Regions from separate parts of the Homo sapiens genome. Here all the other regions are linked to region 4. Evidence: promoter capture Hi-C in human tissues and cell types (Jung and others, 2019). All regions are on one chromosome and are shown on one strand. The core of a region is centred on a gene start or on the middle of the fragment in contact, and the rest is flanking DNA. Distances in the headings are between cores, read along the strand shown. Region 1 overlaps BRD3 (bromodomain containing 3). Region 2 holds the start of VAV2 (vav guanine nucleotide exchange factor 2). Region 3 overlaps WDR5 (WD repeat domain 5). Region 4 holds the start of CACFD1 (calcium channel flower domain containing 1).

Region 1 (3,670 bases), core at 977-3,476, 600 kb after region 4:
GGTGGTGCACCTAGAATCCCAGCTATTCAGGAGGCTGAGGTGGGAGGATCACTTGAGCCTGGGAGTTTGAGGATACAGTCAGCTGTGATCGCACTGCTGCACTCCAGCCTGGATGTCAGAGCAAGACCCTGACACACACACACACACACACACACACACACACACGATCTGGAATGCCATGGAGATTTCCAAAGTAGCCAGCGGGGAGAGGGCAGTGGCCAGGCTCCCCTAACACTGACTAGCCCCCTTCCTGGGTCCCACTCATGCCCCATCCAAGAGAGGCTCTGTGCTGGACATGGAAGGAATGTTGGTGAGGTGGCCCGAATCCTACCTATCCTCACCCTTGCTGTGTGGCCCCAGGCAGGCCCACCTCTGGCCCTGAAGCTGTGGGTGGCCCCCTGAACCCTTCCCAAGGTCCCTGGACTCTGCCTTCCTCTCCATAGGGCACAGGAGGACCTGAATGAAAAGCAGAAATTCAGCCCCCTTTAGGCTGGCCCAGCCCAGAATTCATCAGAAAAGATGCTGAGTCCAGGGCTGTTTCAGGGCTGTGGACAAACAGGGAGGGAATGGGAATCTGTCCAGTTGCCACCAAAGAAAACACCCAGAAATGCCAGTAGCAGTCTCCCTGACCCCTCCTGCCATTCCATGGCCCTCTTGGGGAGCAGAGACCCAGAGGGGCAGGAGCAGGCATGTCGCCTGGGCAGCACAGCAGCCTAGCCTTCAGGCACTCCACAGAGGGAGGACAGAGGGGTGCTGCCTCCAATGCCACACCCTGGGGCAAACCAGCCAAGGGGCAGCGGCTGGACCATGGGGGCATCTCCAGCCTGGCCTGGGCCCAGAGCAAAAAGTCCTTATTTGGGGTCCAGGGATGGGGAGTCCCAGCTTTCAGCAAACAGGCAGGGTTGGGAGGACAGCTTACCAAGGCCATTCCAGCTATAGCATGAGTCTGGAGGAGCAGTGGCAGGGAGGGGCAGGGCTACATAGCTCTGCAGGGGCTCAACCAGACCTGCCAGCTAAAGGGTGGGAGACAGGAGCACTGGAACCAAGGGTGGGGGTGCTGGAGGAAGCTAGGGGAGGCCTTTCCCAGGGGCTCCCCATTCCCCATGGGTCTCCAGCCCTGGAATTTCCATAGCTCTGGGCCTCTGTACCTGTGTCCCTGACTGGATGGCCCCCACTGGGGCACTCCAGCCCGTCTCCTGGACTCTGTCCTGCGTCAGTGGGGGTCAGATGAGCCCCATCTTCCATAAGTGGAGGGGACGCTCAGAGGTGAAGGGGCACAACGTCGCCCAGGCAGAGAAGGCCAGAGCCAGCTTGAACAAAGCTGGACATCCATGCCAGACTCACCGCCAACACCCCACAGCCCCAGAATTCTCGGGATAATGCTGGGAGCAGTGCTGTGATCGGCTGTGGCAGGAGGGAGCTGAGTCTGTGAGAAGGGATCCCAGCCTGCTGCCCCCACAGCCCCATCTAACCCGGCCAACCTAGCACCTGTCCCCAGGCGGCCAGAGGGGCCTCCCCAGCCCACGTGGTGACCAGCGGCCACCCTCCAGGACTCGGGAAACTGGATCTGTCAGGGCAGGGCTGCCTTCAGTGACAGACGGAGCCAACTGCTTCCTTCTATGGAGCCAGGGGAGAAGTCGGGGGTTGGGGGCCCCCTGTAGCCCTGGAGGAGCCCTGGGGAGGGCAGCTGGGCATCGTGGGCCCCACCCAAGCAGGCACGGCCAGCCCTGGCGCCTACTCCCCAGGGGAATCTGCCCAGTGCTGTGAGCCCCCCATGCACAGCGCACCTGCTCTCCTGCAGCTGCCTGGCCGCCTGGAGGGCCCGGCTCTACAGGCCCAGCCCTGTCCCGGGGCGCTTCAGCAGACTGGTGGGGCTATCCTGGGGCATGGCCCCAGACACGCTGGGCAGGTGCAGCTGCCAGCGCTGCCTCTCCCGTGACTGTCCCCTGCACCCCACAGTTCTCCCCACTCTGCACCCACCAGTGCCTTCTAGACCTAAGACCTCATATGCCTCCTGCTTTCTGAACCCAGGGCCTGTGCTTCTCCATGGCCCCACGGCCCTGGGTGAGCGGCCTCTCTGAAGGTTTCCCTTCCTGCCATGACGCCCCCACAGCCTTCTGGCCACAACCCGTCACCTCTTCCAAGCTCCGTCCCTACCCGCCTCTCTACCCACTCCTCGAATAGAGAGGACTCAAAGGACGCTCTACCCCCGTGGGACCCTCATGAGGCGCGTGAGGAGGCCCGACCCTCCACACATGCTGGGAACGAGGAAGTTGGCCCCACAGACACTGGTCAGGCCCTCCCAACCCCAGGCCACCGCCACGTAGTCAGGGTCTCCCACGGGTCTGGGAAGGGCAGGAGAGCCACGACTCAGGCAGGGGACTCTCTTCAGAGGGGCAGTGAGTGAGGACAGCACCTGGCCCTTTAGAGGGAAGGAGACACCGTGCTCTTAGAGGGACACAGCCTCAGGGTCAGGCCCTGGTGCTCCGCACTTCCTAAAACAAAGCTGCGGCAGGCCCACCTAGCATCCATCTGTCTGCTCCATCTCCTCTCAGCCGGCCTGACAAGAACCAAACTCACAAAACACCCCGGCCCCAGGAGACAGGCCTGGCCTCACTGCTGTCCCACTCAGCCATGCCGAGCCAGGACAAGGGGCCAGCAGGGCCGCAGCTCTCAGACCATCCCCTTGGTTATTTCGTCTATGTTCTCTGCTCACCCCCAACCACAAATGCCGAGGACTGCAGGACGCCCCCAGGCCTGTTGCCGGGACAGACCGGAGGCAGAGCTAAGAGCAAAGCGTGGGCATGCAGCACATCTGTCTGTGAGTCCACAGCCCACGGAGCCACCGTGCTTGACCCTTGCCTCCTACCCAGCCCCTGGTACCAGCGAGGGCCTGGTCAGCATACCCAGGGCTCTGTCCTGTGGTGTGGGCAGATGGGGGCGGGTGGCACCCTGGACCCGCAGGCTCACACAGCTGCCCCTTTGCACATTTTGCTCCTTGTGGGATTGTCAGGCCAAGGCTCCAGTGACGCATGGCACAGGGAGGGCATCCTCTCAGCCGCTTATAGTAGATTCTTCCTTCTGCCACATGACAGGTTATAGCTACAATACTCAGCACTCCTGCAGGGGCCGGGCACCTCACACAGATGCATCTGTGCCTCATCTCGGTCAGTGCTCACACGGAGGCTAAGGCCGTCCCGCCCCAGAGTCCCACAGCTCCCAGGTACCGACTCTTAGTCCCAGGTCCTCACAGGTGCACTGAGGGCACTCCCTCTGCCCCAGACTCCAGGCCTGGCCAGCAGCCGCCTCTGCAGATCACACCCGAGTCCACTGGGTGCTTTGCAAAATGCTGCAGCTGGTTATCAAGCCACACTCAGAAAGATCCAGCCGGCGACTCCTGAACATCACTGCACCCTCAGCGGGACACTTTTCCAAGTGGCTGGAAAAGTTGTCTCCCACAATACCGGATTAACTTCTGACGAACTCAGTACCTTGGGGGCCTGCGGCAAGGAGGGGGGCGGGGGCATGTTCCACGCCCCATCTTCCCAACACCAGGCTCCGAAGGCCCTGTGAGGAGGCAGCCTGCGAACTGACTCTCAGGGAACAGCCACAGACTGGTGCGAGACGCAGACAGCCAACAGCACGGACACAACAGGGTCCGAGCCTCCAG
Region 2 (4,166 bases), core at 1,201-3,700, 530 kb after region 4:
ACAGCCGTACAAAGGTGGCCCACCCTCCACGGGACAGAGGAGTGGATGGCAAGATCAGCCTCAGCGACACAGGGCACTACGTGCCACAGTCCAGGTGACGGTCATTTCCTGGGCACTGTGCGAAGGGTGTGCCTTCTGTGCCTGCCCTTAGCAAATCCTCACAGCATGGCTACGAGGGGACTGCTATGACTGTTCTCATGACAGAGATGGGGAAACTGAGGCTCTGGAGGTCGTTGCCTACCTGGGAGGGGACAGTGCCAGGATTCAATCAGAGCGGAGAGCCACACAGACACACACCCATCTGGTCCTCCTACCATCCAGGCCCCTACACGCCCTCCACGAGTCCGGCAGCAGGGCCCCTAAACACCCCTCTACCGGCCCAGCAGCGGGACCCCTAGACACCCGTCCACCCCCCAGCAGCAGGGCTCAAGGGGCCTCTGTCAGGGTTCGTATTGCTGCCTGGCCAATGGCTCCAGAGACCCCAGGAAGTCTCTGGCTTGAACTTCCAGTGCAGGAGCTGAGCCAAGCCACCTGCCACAGCCACGGCCCCCTCCTCTTCCCATCTTCCCAAACCACAGCTGGGGAGGGGCAGCCCCCGGACCCAGCGAGTCCACCAGGCAAGGCTGGGCTCCTCCCAAGCCTCCTCTGTGCGGACCCAGCTGCCCTGCCTCTGCCCTGAGCCCCAGCCTGCAAGCAGCAGGGAATCCTGCCCGAGCAAGTCAGCCTGGGCAGCCCCTGGAACTCATATCAAAGGCAGCCACCTTGGTTCGAGGCCCAGCCCTGCTCCCCAACAGCTACCCTTCTCCTCAGTTTCTCCAGCCATAAAATGGAGTCCAGACTTCCCAGTCCCCGTGGGGCTCTGAGAACAGATCCGGGGAAGCCCTCTGCAGCAGTGACCGCCACCCCCGCCACCTGCACCTGACCACTGACATCCTGCGGGAAGAGGCGCTGGCTCCCAGGGAGGCCTCTGAGGGCTCCTGCTAAGCCGGTCCAGGCAGTGCTGGGTAATCATTACCCAGTGGGAAGGCGGCCCCTTCCCCTCTGGGCTTGCCTTTGTCAGCGCCCCCCAACCCGGCAGAGAAAGGCCCGGTCTCCTAGGAAACGCAGTCACCGCCAAAGGGCAGAGGCCTCGCTGCCCAGCCTGGAATCGCTGGTGACTCACTCTCCCTCCTTCCCAGGAACCACGTCCTAAGTCCCACTGGTGAATGGTCCCTCTCCACATGGAGTTGCCACTGCGCGCGGTGAGGGGCTGCTGAGCTGGCTGGAAGACCGCACCTCCTCGGCGCTGGGTGGACCCGGCTGCCACCCGCTCTGCCTCCCCCGACCTCTTCTAAGCTGCTCCCGGTAAGGATTCCGCGACCCCCGGAGAACAGGACGGAAGCCTCGATTCTCTCAAGTCTTAGCCAAGTTCCCTCTTAAGAGGCCAAGAAAAGCAGCTTCGTTCGGCTGGGCAGGCATTTTCCTGCCTGGCCCTGCGGCCGCACGCGTGCCTCCGCCGCGACAAAGGCCACACTCAGCGCCCGAAGGAGGGGTGGGGGTGTTGGGAAAGCGATGGGGGCCAGGACTGGGGCCAAGTGGCCCTGGGGATCCTCGAGGCGGCTCGACCCGGGAGCCAGGACTGGCGCCAAGTGGCCCGGGTCCGGGTCCGGGAAGAGGCGGAGGCCGGCGAGGGGGCGGTGCCCGGGGCCAACCCAGCTCCCTCCGGCCCCGAGGGCTCCCGCCCCGCGCCCCTCCCGGGCCCTCCAGCCGCGCCCCGGGCCGGCGCAGCGACCGCGCCCGCTCTTCCACCGGCGTCCGGCCAGGAGGCGCGAGGCCCAAGGATGCGACCCACGACGCGCACACCCGGCTCGGCAGGCTCCCTGGGAAATGAGGGGCCACTCGCAGGGCCCCGCAGAGCGAGCGCAGCGCCGGAGCCTCCCCCATCCCAGGCCGCGCAGACCGCGGAACCGGCGCACCAGAGCAGTGCCCGCGGGCGGCGGCGGCGCGACCCAGGCTGAGGGGACTTTGGCCAACTTCGCGCCTCCTGAGGTCGCGTCTCGGAGGCCCGGGGCGCACCCTCCAGCCGCCCGCCCGCGTCCCGGAGCCCGGCCGCCCCAGCCAGGGCGCCTGGGCCGCCGCCGCTGCGACCTCCGCGTTCAGTCCGCGCGTCGGGCAGCGCGAACGCCGCCTCCCCGGGGCCCTCCCGCCCGCCGGGCGCTCACCTGGGACATCTGCGGCCGGAAGTTGATGTCCTTGAGGTCGATGGAGCCGGGGGAGAGGTTGTGCAGCAGCTGGCACAGAAGGACCCCGTCGCGCAGCGCCTGCGCCAGGTCGAAGACCACGGCCGAGGGCCACACCACCCGGTGGTTGGGCGGCAGGACCTTGCAATCGATGAGCCAGCGGCCGCACTGCCGCCACTGCTCCATGGCGCCCGCGGGCCCGACCGGCTCAGGGCAGTGCTCGAGCCAAAGTGCAGCGGCCGCGGGGCATCCCGCCCGCGCGCGCGCGGGGCTCAGGGCCGGGGCGGGGCTTCGCGCGGGCTGCCCCAGGTCCCCCGCTGCGCCGCCGTGCGTCCCCTCCTCTTCCTCCTCCTACTCCTCGGGCTCCTCTCGGGCCGCCGCTCCCGCCCACGTGCGGCCGCGGGGCGGGCAACGGGCAGCGCGCCGGATCTCCCCGCTTCACACACGCAAGTGCCTGCGGGCCCCGGGCCGGGCTCCACGCAGCCAGTCGCCGCAGCGCTCCCCAATCCGCGCCGCCGGGCGCCGCATTCTGCGCTCGGGGCGCCCCGCGGCCGCCGCGGCTCCTGCCCCGCCCGAGACAAAGGCCCGGCGGGGTCGCTCGCTCCGCGCGTCCCGGGCCTGGGCCGCCCGCGTCGCCGCCGCTTTGTTCGCCCCACCCGCAGTCCCCACGCCCGGCGCTGCGACTCGACGACTCGGCGGCTCGGCGGCTCCACGGCTCCGGGGCGCTGGGGGCGCAGGGGGCGCGGCCACGGCCGGGCGGGGCAGGGGCGGGGCCGGAGCACTCGCCTGGCACCTCCCCGTGTCCCAAGCGCCGCCCCCGCCCCCCCACTTCCTGCCCCGCTACCGCCCGCGAAAGTTGCGGTGGGCGGGGGTTGCGGCGCAGGCCCAGGTCCGGCCGACTTTCTCCAAGGGCGCTCGGACTTTGGGGAGCCCTTCTCCCTGGGGGAGCGACCTCGCCCGTGGAGTGATGGCCGGGCGTCCCCCCGGGTGCCTTTGGTCCTCCGTGGAGGTCAGGAGGTGGTCCCTGTCGCGCTGGGCGCCCTCGCATGGCCGTTCGGTAACGACAGACTCGGGAGAGGGCACCGGGCTGGGCCGAAGCTTACTGAGCCCCCTTGGCCCATCAAGCCGCCCCGGCGGGATACCCGAGGCTGAGGCTGAAGGCACACGGGCCCAGGACTCCCAGAGCCCTCTTCCTGTCCTCCGCCCTGGCCGGGGGCCCATAGGAAGACCCCCGACCCTGCATAAAGGCCAGGATTCCCCAGCTTTTGGCCAAAGTCCTGGCCACTCGCAGCTGCCCAGCGGGCAGTTCCTGGCGTCCAGGGCGGAATGCGTGACATGAGTGAGGGCAGGAAGGTGCTCTCCGGCCCAGGGTCGCAGCCGGCCCCGGTGCTGATCCGCCCTGATCTCCCTTCTAGGCCACACCCTGGGTGGTGGGGGCGCGGTCTGTCCAGCTGGCAACGTGTGACGGTAGGAGGGGCTTCAAGGACAAACAGATTCTGCAACTGAAATTATATGGATCCTGGCTCAGCTGCCGGGAACCGCGGGTTTTCACTGCTGATTCACTGGGGGACACCAGGCAAGTCCAAGCCCTTCTCTGAGACTGGCTCAGCCCGGAGGCTGGGGTGCGGTGTCTGAGGGCTCCCACCCTGGACTCCGGTGGAATCCTGGGCCTGTATGAGCTGGGGCTGCACTGCAGCCCCCGGACCCCTTACCCCGTGGCTTCCCTGCGCAGGGGCCGGAACGGGGATGCGAGCGCAGAGAGGGTCCCCTGGGCCCAGGGCCTCCGATGGGGGTCCTGTCCTGGAAATTGGTCTCTGCAGAGTCAGACTCACCCCTTCTCCACTGAGGTGGAAGCAGGGGGTCCCAGCTTAGGGTCTGGCCCGTAGAGAGAGGTCAGGAAGGAGCTGGCCCCTGCAGCAGTAAACTCAGGCCAGGTGGCTGGTGAGG
Region 3 (3,672 bases), core at 894-3,393, 690 kb after region 4:
GTCCCCTGTGACTTTGTATCTGAATCCAGTTCAATAGTGAACTTTGAAGCTTATCCCAACGATTCGAGACCACAGGCGGGAGGGAGCTCCCTGGTTCATGTCTTTGGTTTTAGCATGAGCTTGCTACCTAAGCCTTGATTGCTGGTCCCAGAGGAAGACCACAGAGGGCAACTCACTGGTGAATGTTGATGCCAGGATTCCAGAGGAAGTAGCAGCCTCCTGAGCCTACCGTGCACAGAAAGGAATTCCCATAGCCAAGGAATTCATTCATTATTGGATAATGAAAGGATTATAACGTAAACATCAGGAAACCTATTATCTAATTCTACCAACAGATTAAAGGCGTTAAATGTCTCTGTCTGTTATTAATTAGTAGGGGTCAAAAAGGCGCCTGATTGATAATATCCAGCAGCCAACCCTTCAGCAAGATAGAGCAGTATTGTTGACCACTTACTGGTAACTAATAATTTTCACATGTGGCGACATGCTGAAACTCTTTCTATGAAAATCAGAAGTGGGACAGGTGTGCTTGGTTCCCATGTTACTCAGCATTGTTGGGAGTTTCTAGTTAGTGTAAGAAAATGAAAAAATAGTCCTATGAAAATTGAATAGAGATACACATCTTTGTAGATATGTTTGCATGTTTTAAAATATTTAAAAGCCACCAACACTGCTTTTCAAATACCCATTTAACCCTGTGACGTGGGTACTGTCAGCCTTGCTTTTCAGGCAGGGACAGTTACCACGGTCTCTCAGTTGCTCAGTGCAGGACCAGAACCCGTGTCAGCTCTGGAGTCTGGGCCTGGAACCCCCTGCCCTGCTAGCTACGTGGTGTGATCTCGCGTTTAGTGCCATCAGTGCTTGAAAATGGACTTTTTTCTGTATACTAGGAATTGCCAGTTAGAAGATGGGGAAAATGTTTCCATTTTAACAGTGACAAAAATGCTAAGATGTTTAGGAATGCGGCTAGTGAGAAGGAGCAGGACCAATGCAGGAAATGAGAAATGGAACTGAAAGGACACACGGGGGTTAGGTCTTGAGGGTTAGGAGATGAGGCGGCTCCGGAGAGGCCCTCCCGCAGTGATTGCGGAGCTAGAGGACATGAATTTGAGATCCATGGGGCAGCAGGATGGAGCTGTTGCTGAGAGAATTGAGAAGATGCAGAGTTGGGAGGAGAGTTGCTGCTTCTGGGTTTGAAAACCCTGGGTGAAGTGTCTGAGGTCCAGTGTGGTCTCGTCCCTGGATTATTGAAGTGTGGGCAGAACAGGAGGTGGGTGTGCAGAGCAGAGAGCTTCGGGGCCCTCCCAGAGGCGGCTTCTCCATGGGTGAGAGATGGGAGGGACCGTGCATGGCGGCCATGGGGTCTCGTGCTTGGGGAATGATTTGTCCACGTGTGACCCGAGCCTGTTCCCCGCTGCTGGCATCTGTGCAGTAGAATTGTGGGTGCTAACACAGTGGGCTCTGCTTCCAGAATGCGTCTGTATTGGCAGAAATCACAGAAACCCTGAAATTGGAACAATGTAAATGCCTGGCTTGTACCTTCTGGGAATAGTCCAGAAGACTGCTTACAATACTCTTAAATTTTTGTTTTGAAAGAAGCCCTCTCATTGCTTGCATGTGTTTGCATGAGCGTGGGCAGAGCCTGCGAGAAGCACTGGGCTGCTGCTGCCCCTCTCCTTGGCCAGGGAGAGTGGAGAGAGCAACAGGCTTCCCGCTCTGTGTTGGGGGTCAACTGTGGCTTGTGTAGGAGAGATCCAGAGGTACCCCACACATGGTCTGCACGTGTGTAGCATGTGTGGACTGTTGATGTTTGTATGGACAGTGTTTAGTCTTTGTCCCTAGAATATAAGAGAATGACTGTTAAACAGGTGAAGCATAACTTTTAAAAAAAGATAGGGAAAAGCGTGCTAGTCCTAAAATTTATATCTGACTCCCAGCAGCCCGCGTGAGATCATAACTTGTCTGCTTACGCTTTTTTGTTCTCTTTGCTTCGAAGTCGCATCTGGGACACCGCCTCAGGCCAGTGCCTGAAGACGCTCATCGGTGAGTGTGGCTCTGTGTGGGGGCTGGGTCTGTGGGGAGGGCCTCCCCTGCTGGGTTCACTGCCCCTGTTCTTCACCAGCTCCTCCTCCCTCCTCTGCCCTGGGTCCGCCCCTGCAGGAGGAACCTTCCTCCGTGTCCGACCGTTCCGCCAGCTCCCCCTGACCGCCCGCTGGCTCTGTTGCTCCTTCTGGTGCAGTTTTCCTGCCATGGCCTTTCTCTTGGGCCAGCCTGGGGCTCCTCCACCTGTGCTGTCGGCCTCACTCCGGCTGCTCACTGGAGTCCTCTGGGCAGCCCCATTGCCTCCTGGCTTCGGGCCCCTGCTGTCGTGCCAGCCTCTTGGATCATTCCTTGAGTGACCGGCTGAGTGCCTGCCCATCTGCTGGGGGTGCTGCCGAGGTGGATGGAGGTGTCCTGGGGGCACGGAGGACAGGCCTGAGGAGAGGAAGGAGGGACGTGGCGTGGCCTGGATGGGAAGGCCAGGTGCTGGGCAGGGTGTGGCCTGAGGGTCTGTGACGGCCCGGGGTTCCCAGCTGCCCCTTGCAGAGCCTGCAGAAAGGAGCGGAAGGGTTTTCATCCGGGGAGTGTTCGTGTTTAAGAAGCCTAGGCTAGATGTGTGGGATGGGGCGCACCTTGAGGAGGGAGCTGGGTGGTGAGGATGGGGGGATGGACCCCCGTGTGGGGAGGCACCCCGTTTGCGCCCTTCTTCCCTCTAGTCTGTCATAGCCTGCTGGCCTAGCTGAGACCAAGCCCCACAGGCTGGGAGGCTATCTGTGGCAGGAATGTGTCTCCCCGCAGTCCAGGAGGCTGTGGTCAGGATTGAGGAGGCCTCTTCTTGGCTTATAGACGCTGCCTTACCCTGGCTTCACACCAGTGTCCCTGGTGCCTCCGTGTGTCCAAATGTCCTCTTGTAAGGACACCACCCTTGGGCCTCATTTTCACTCTGTCGCCCTCTTTGAAGGCCCTGTCTCCAGTACACTCGCCTCTGAGGCTCTGGAGGCTTGGGCTTCAGCATGAGTCCCCTTGCCACAGCGGTCTTTATAGCTTCCTGCCTTGTGGGGCCAGCCTTTTGCCATGCATCTCTCCTGATTGAGATCACACCGCACTTGGTGTCCCCTGGACGGGCCACCTGTGCTCAGTTGTGTGCGCCGCTGTTGTGTGAGCACACGTAACCCTCACGGCCACCTCTGAGGAGGGGGGTTGTCCTCATCCTGCATAGAGGCTCATTCACTAGCCCAAAGCTCCACAGCAAGCAGGTGCAGGGACTGGGATTCCAGCCTGGGCGCCCCTGAGCCCAGGGTGGGGACGGAGGGGTCGCTGCATAGCAGTTTTCCCATCGGCGTCTCCTCAGGTCTAGCGAGTTAGACCCTTCTGGACTTCACTGAGACAGGTTGGCTGATGCGTTCATCTCTGTGAGGCTCTGCCCAGGCAGCCTGGGTTAGGCATGCGGACACGCTTGCCATCAGCTGTGTTAAGGGAGCCCGGCCCCCCGGCCCTCACTGTGACCTCGGCCTGCCTGGCGGTGTGACGTGGTGTGCCCCTGAGGGAGGGACCGCATGGCCTCACAGCGTCTCCCGTGCCTTTTCAGTGTATGTGACCGGGCTGAGGGAGCGGAGACGCCAGGTGCCTGGC
Region 4 (3,972 bases), core at 1,072-3,571:
GACCACTCTGCTCAGTGCATGCCATTGTTTCCTTCAGTTACAGAGGAGGGAACCAGAGCCCAGAACATTTAGCCTTTGCCTAAAGTCACTGGGCCAGGAAGTGGTAGAGGTGGGGTTCAGCAGGATTTGCCTGGGAACCCCAATATTGACCACAGTGCCATGCTGCCCTGCACGGCTCCCTGGCTGTGAGTTGTCCTGGCCTCTGGCACCACCGGTCTGTCTGGGTTCCTATGTCCCTATGTCCCACCTGCAGAATGTGACATGCAGCTCTTTGGGCCCTGGGGTGAAATCGTGAGCCCCTCGCTGAGTCCAGCCACGAGTAATGCAGGGGGCTGCCGGCTCTTCATTAATGTGGCTCCGCACGCACGGATTGCCATCCATGCCCTGGCCACCAACATGGGCGCTGGGACCGAGGGAGCCAATGCCAGCTACATCTTGGTGAGGCCCAGCATGGGGACTTGTGCTGTGATTCTGGACAGCTTTCCCTAGGGCGTGCAGGGCTAGGGGACCCCCTTCAGTTTATTTCAGACTAAAACCCTCAAAATCATTAGTGAAAGAATGGGAGAAGATAGCTTCCTCCACATATTCACCAAGAAATGTTTTTTGAGCTACCTACAAGAGTGAAATAGTGGCTCACAACTGTAATCCCAGCACTTTGGGAGGCCCAGGAGGGCAGATCACTCAAGGTCAGGAGTTCGAGACCAGCCTGGCCAACATGATGAAACCTTGTCTCTACTAAAAATAGAAAAAGTAGCCAGGCATGGTGGCGTGTGCCTGTAATCCCAGCTACTTGGGAGGCTGAGGCACAAGAATCACTTGAACCCGGGAGGTGGAGGTTGCACTAAGCCCAGATCGCACCACTGCACTCCAGCCTGGGCAACAGAGTGAGACTCTGTCTCAAAAAAAAAAAAAAAAAAAAAGCGAAATGGTAAAGAATGGTAAAGACCTTTCTGATGTAGACTGACAGCTAACCCAAGACTGAAGCATAATTTTACAGTCTGATATAACTTGGACAGAATAGCACCCTGCACCCTCCCCGAGGTTTCAAGTGTCCTGGGAGAACTGTGTTCTGCAGGGTATCAGCTTCCCCAGAGGAGGCAGCCTGGCCCCGCTCTGGCACCCTGACTGTGTGTCCTTGGGGAAGTGATGTAACGTCCCTGGACCTCGGTTTTCTGGGTAGAGTAATGGCGTATTCCTAGTAGGGCTTTGTAAGCATTAAATGTGATCCGGAATCTGTGAGCCCTTGCACACGAAGGCTTCCGTGAGTGCTAATTATTACTTGTGGCCGGTCCTTCTGGGCTGCCCCTTTTCTCTCAGATCCGGGACACCCACAGCTTGAGGACCACAGCGTTCCATGGGCAGCAGGTGCTCTACTGGGAGTCAGAGAGCAGCCAGGCTGAGATGGAGTTCAGCGAGGGCTTCCTGAAGGCTCAGGCCAGCCTGCGGGGCCAGTACTGGACCCTCCAATCATGGGTACCGGAGATGCAGGACCCTCAGTCCTGGAAGGGAAAGGAAGGAACCTGAGGGTCATTGAACATTTGTTCCGTGTCTGGCCAGCCCTGGAGGGTTGACCCCTGGTCTCAGTGCTTTCCAATTCGAACTTTTTCCAATCTTAGGTATCTACTTTAGAGTCTTCTCCAATGTCCAAAAGGCTAGGGGGTTGGAGGTGGGGACTCTGGAAAAGCAGCCCCCATTTCCTCGGGTACCAATAAATAAAACATGCAGGCTGACCGGCGTTTTTTTCTTATAAGCTGTCCAGACCTGGCTTGAAAACCCATCCCATGGCAAGGCAGGGATTCGCTGGCCGCGGTTGGCTCTATCTTGATCTGAGCAAGCCGCTGGACGTCCCTAGTTATCTTCTTCCTATCCAGGAAGAAAATCCAATCAGGATTCCACTCCGAGGATGGCGCATTAGCCAGCTCCCTGCGAAGCCCCACCCGTGTGTCCTGGTGTGAGGCTCTGACCGCTAAGGTGTCTGCGCGCCTCCAGGCCCCGCCCCCTATGCTAATAAGCGCCCGCCTCCTTTGGGAGCAAGTCGCCGCAAACTGCGAGCCCCCGCCCCCTACGCTAATGACGCCCGCCCCCCTCGGGCACACCTCTCCGATGCCTGCGAGCCCCGCCCCGTATGCTAACGAGCTCCCCACCCCCAGCTCCTCGCCGCAGCCTGCGGGTCCCGCCCCCTACAATAATGAGCACCTACCTCCCCTCAAACGCCCCTAGTCGCGGCATGAGGGTCCCGCTCACTATGTTAATGAGCACCCGCCTCCCTTCGGGCGCGCCTCGCCGCAGCCTGAAAGCCCCGCCCCCTATGCTAATATGCTCCCTCTCCCACAAGGCAGCGCGCCGGCTCGGACGCGGCCGGCTACCGAGCCCTTTGTGAGGGCTGTGAGCTGCGCCTGACGGTGGCACCATGAGCAGCTCAGGTGGGGCGCCCGGGGCGTCCGCCAGCTCTGCGCCGCCCGCGCAGGAAGAGGGCATGACGTGGTGGTACCGCTGGCTGTGTCGCCTGTCTGGGGTGCTGGGGGCAGTCTGTGAGTATCCAGTCGGGGAGAGGGGCCGGCCCCGCCGCGCATGCGCTCCTCGCCCTGCCCTGCCCCGCCCCGCCCCGGCGGCCCCAGGGGAAAGGACCCGCTGGGGGTCGGGGGTCTGCCGGGCGCCTCCCGGGGCGGAGGAATGGCGGGGCCGCCGGGAGCCGGCGTCCTGGGGTTGCCATGGTTACCCGCTCGGGCCTGGGCGCCTTGGTACCCCGGGCTGGGCTGGGCTGGCGCTTCTGGGAACATTCCCGGAGGGACCAGAAACCCCAGGGCGGGGGGGCGGCGGGGGCGGGGGTGGGGCACCGGCCTGGGGCACGTGACTGAGCCCTCCCCCCGCTCCCCAGGGGCTTTTGTGAGACTTTCTCGGTGATGCTCACGGGGCGCATGCCCACCTGGCCCGTACTAAAGCGTCAACTGTTGACTTGGGCGTAGGTGACGGCAGCCACATTGCTAACCTTTGGGCAAGGATTGTTTGTAAGGGAGGCGGGTGCACGGCTGGCTAGATTTCTGGCAGGAAGCCACTGGGCGGAAGTTTGCTGAGGGTCAGGTGGTGTCAGGGCACAGGTGGCCCCTGGGGCCGCGGGGCAGTGAGCTGAGGGCCCGGCCTCTCCCTGGGTCCTCTGTCCGCTCTCATATCTCCCCCGTTGCTGCTGCCTTAGCCGCCTGTCACCGGCCTTCCTCCCCTTCTCCGCACGCATCCCAGTCACAGACCCTGACCTTAGGCTGCCAGGGAAGCTAGGCTCTTAAGCACAGCCAGAAAAGGACAAAGAGGGAGGCAGGTCAGCTCCAGGAGTGAATGGAAGCCGTACAGCTGGCCTTCCAGGGAAAGACAAGTCTGTCTGAGTGATACCCTTTCCTTTCCTGTCTGCCCTCAATCTTGTGGATTACTGGAGTGGGCAAGGTCTTAGAGAATGTCTGTCGAGGATGTCTGCAGGTTTTAAACAGTGCCTGCCTGGCAGAGAGGGCTAGCTCTGGGCCTGGGCAGGGCAGGCCCCATCAGCAATCCTGCCAGAAGGACCACCTTTTCAGGGTCACCTTGGGTTCCACAGCCTTTCCAGGTGGGTAGAGGGTGGAGGGAGGTTGAGGCAGGAGGGTGCTGGGCTAGGAGTGTGCTGCCCTCGCTAGGCATGCCCTTATCCAGAGGCAACGGATACGGTAGGGCAGGCCCTACCCCCAAATCACAAAAAGGCCCCGAGTTTGTGTCACTGCTCTTCAGGGCAAGTACGCTTTTGACTTTGTAGGAGAGACTGGTGGGTTTGAAGTTAGGCATTGGATCCAGTCCTGTCATGTCTGGTTAGCTGTTTTCCCTGCAGATTAGGGTGGGCAGTGCAGTGGGGTGACATGGTCAGTGGTGAGAAAGGAAAGGTCCTGACTATGGCCTGTAGGCCACACCTCCTTCCTTCTTGGTCAGTGGCCCTGCCGACTCCCAGATTTGCTG

The links. The method cuts DNA at HindIII sites, captures the fragments that hold promoters and counts their contacts. A contact is called where the count stands out against the background at its distance.
Region 1: a fragment that was not itself captured here is called in contact with the fragment with the promoter of CACFD1 in region 4 in 1 of the 25 tissues and cell types used here (dorsolateral prefrontal cortex).
Region 2: the fragment with the promoter of VAV2 here is called in contact with the fragment with the promoter of CACFD1 in region 4 in 1 of the 25 tissues and cell types used here (lymphoblastoid cells).
Region 3: a fragment that was not itself captured here is called in contact with the fragment with the promoter of CACFD1 in region 4 in 1 of the 25 tissues and cell types used here (lymphoblastoid cells).

What each region holds. Positions count from the first base shown.
Region 1 is chr9:134,060,457-134,064,126 of GRCh38, forward strand. The region is part of intron 1 of BRD3 (bromodomain containing 3); the gene reads right to left. Among named protein-coding and RNA genes, the nearest start is that of BRD3, 5.7 kb to the right of the region's middle. RefSeq lists an enhancer at 2,133-3,044. The HindIII fragment of the contact is 7,576 bases long and covers 1-3,670 here.
Region 2 is chr9:133,989,874-133,994,039 of GRCh38, forward strand. VAV2 (vav guanine nucleotide exchange factor 2) reads right to left here and starts at 2,451. Exons shown (of 30, transcript NM_001134398.2): 1 at 2,202-2,451. The coding sequence starts at 2,405. RefSeq lists enhancers at 1-37, 766-1,493, 1,494-2,221, 2,950-3,677, 3,574-3,763 and 1 more and silencers at 1,604-2,043, 2,084-2,173, 2,444-2,593, 2,654-2,753, 2,854-3,163. The HindIII fragment of the contact is 15,000 bases long and covers 1-4,166 here.
Region 3 is chr9:134,149,987-134,153,658 of GRCh38, forward strand. It overlaps WDR5 (WD repeat domain 5), which reads left to right. Exons shown (of 14, transcript NM_017588.3): 9 at 1,997-2,043. Among named protein-coding and RNA genes, the nearest start is that of RNU6ATAC, 13 kb to the right of the region's middle. RefSeq lists enhancers at 1,880-2,400, 2,401-2,920. The HindIII fragment of the contact is 8,625 bases long and covers 1-3,672 here.
Region 4 is chr9:133,457,657-133,461,628 of GRCh38, forward strand. CACFD1 (calcium channel flower domain containing 1) reads left to right here and starts at 2,322. Exons shown (of 5, transcript NM_017586.5): 1 at 2,322-2,531. The coding sequence starts at 2,411. ADAMTS13 (ADAM metallopeptidase with thrombospondin type 1 motif 13) reads left to right here. Exons shown (of 29, transcript NM_139027.6): 28 at 254-438; 29 at 1,318-1,730. The coding sequence ends at 1,524. RefSeq lists enhancers at 1-267, 1-85 and silencers at 1,918-2,137, 2,148-2,247, 2,538-2,837. The HindIII fragment of the contact is 20,945 bases long and covers 1-3,972 here.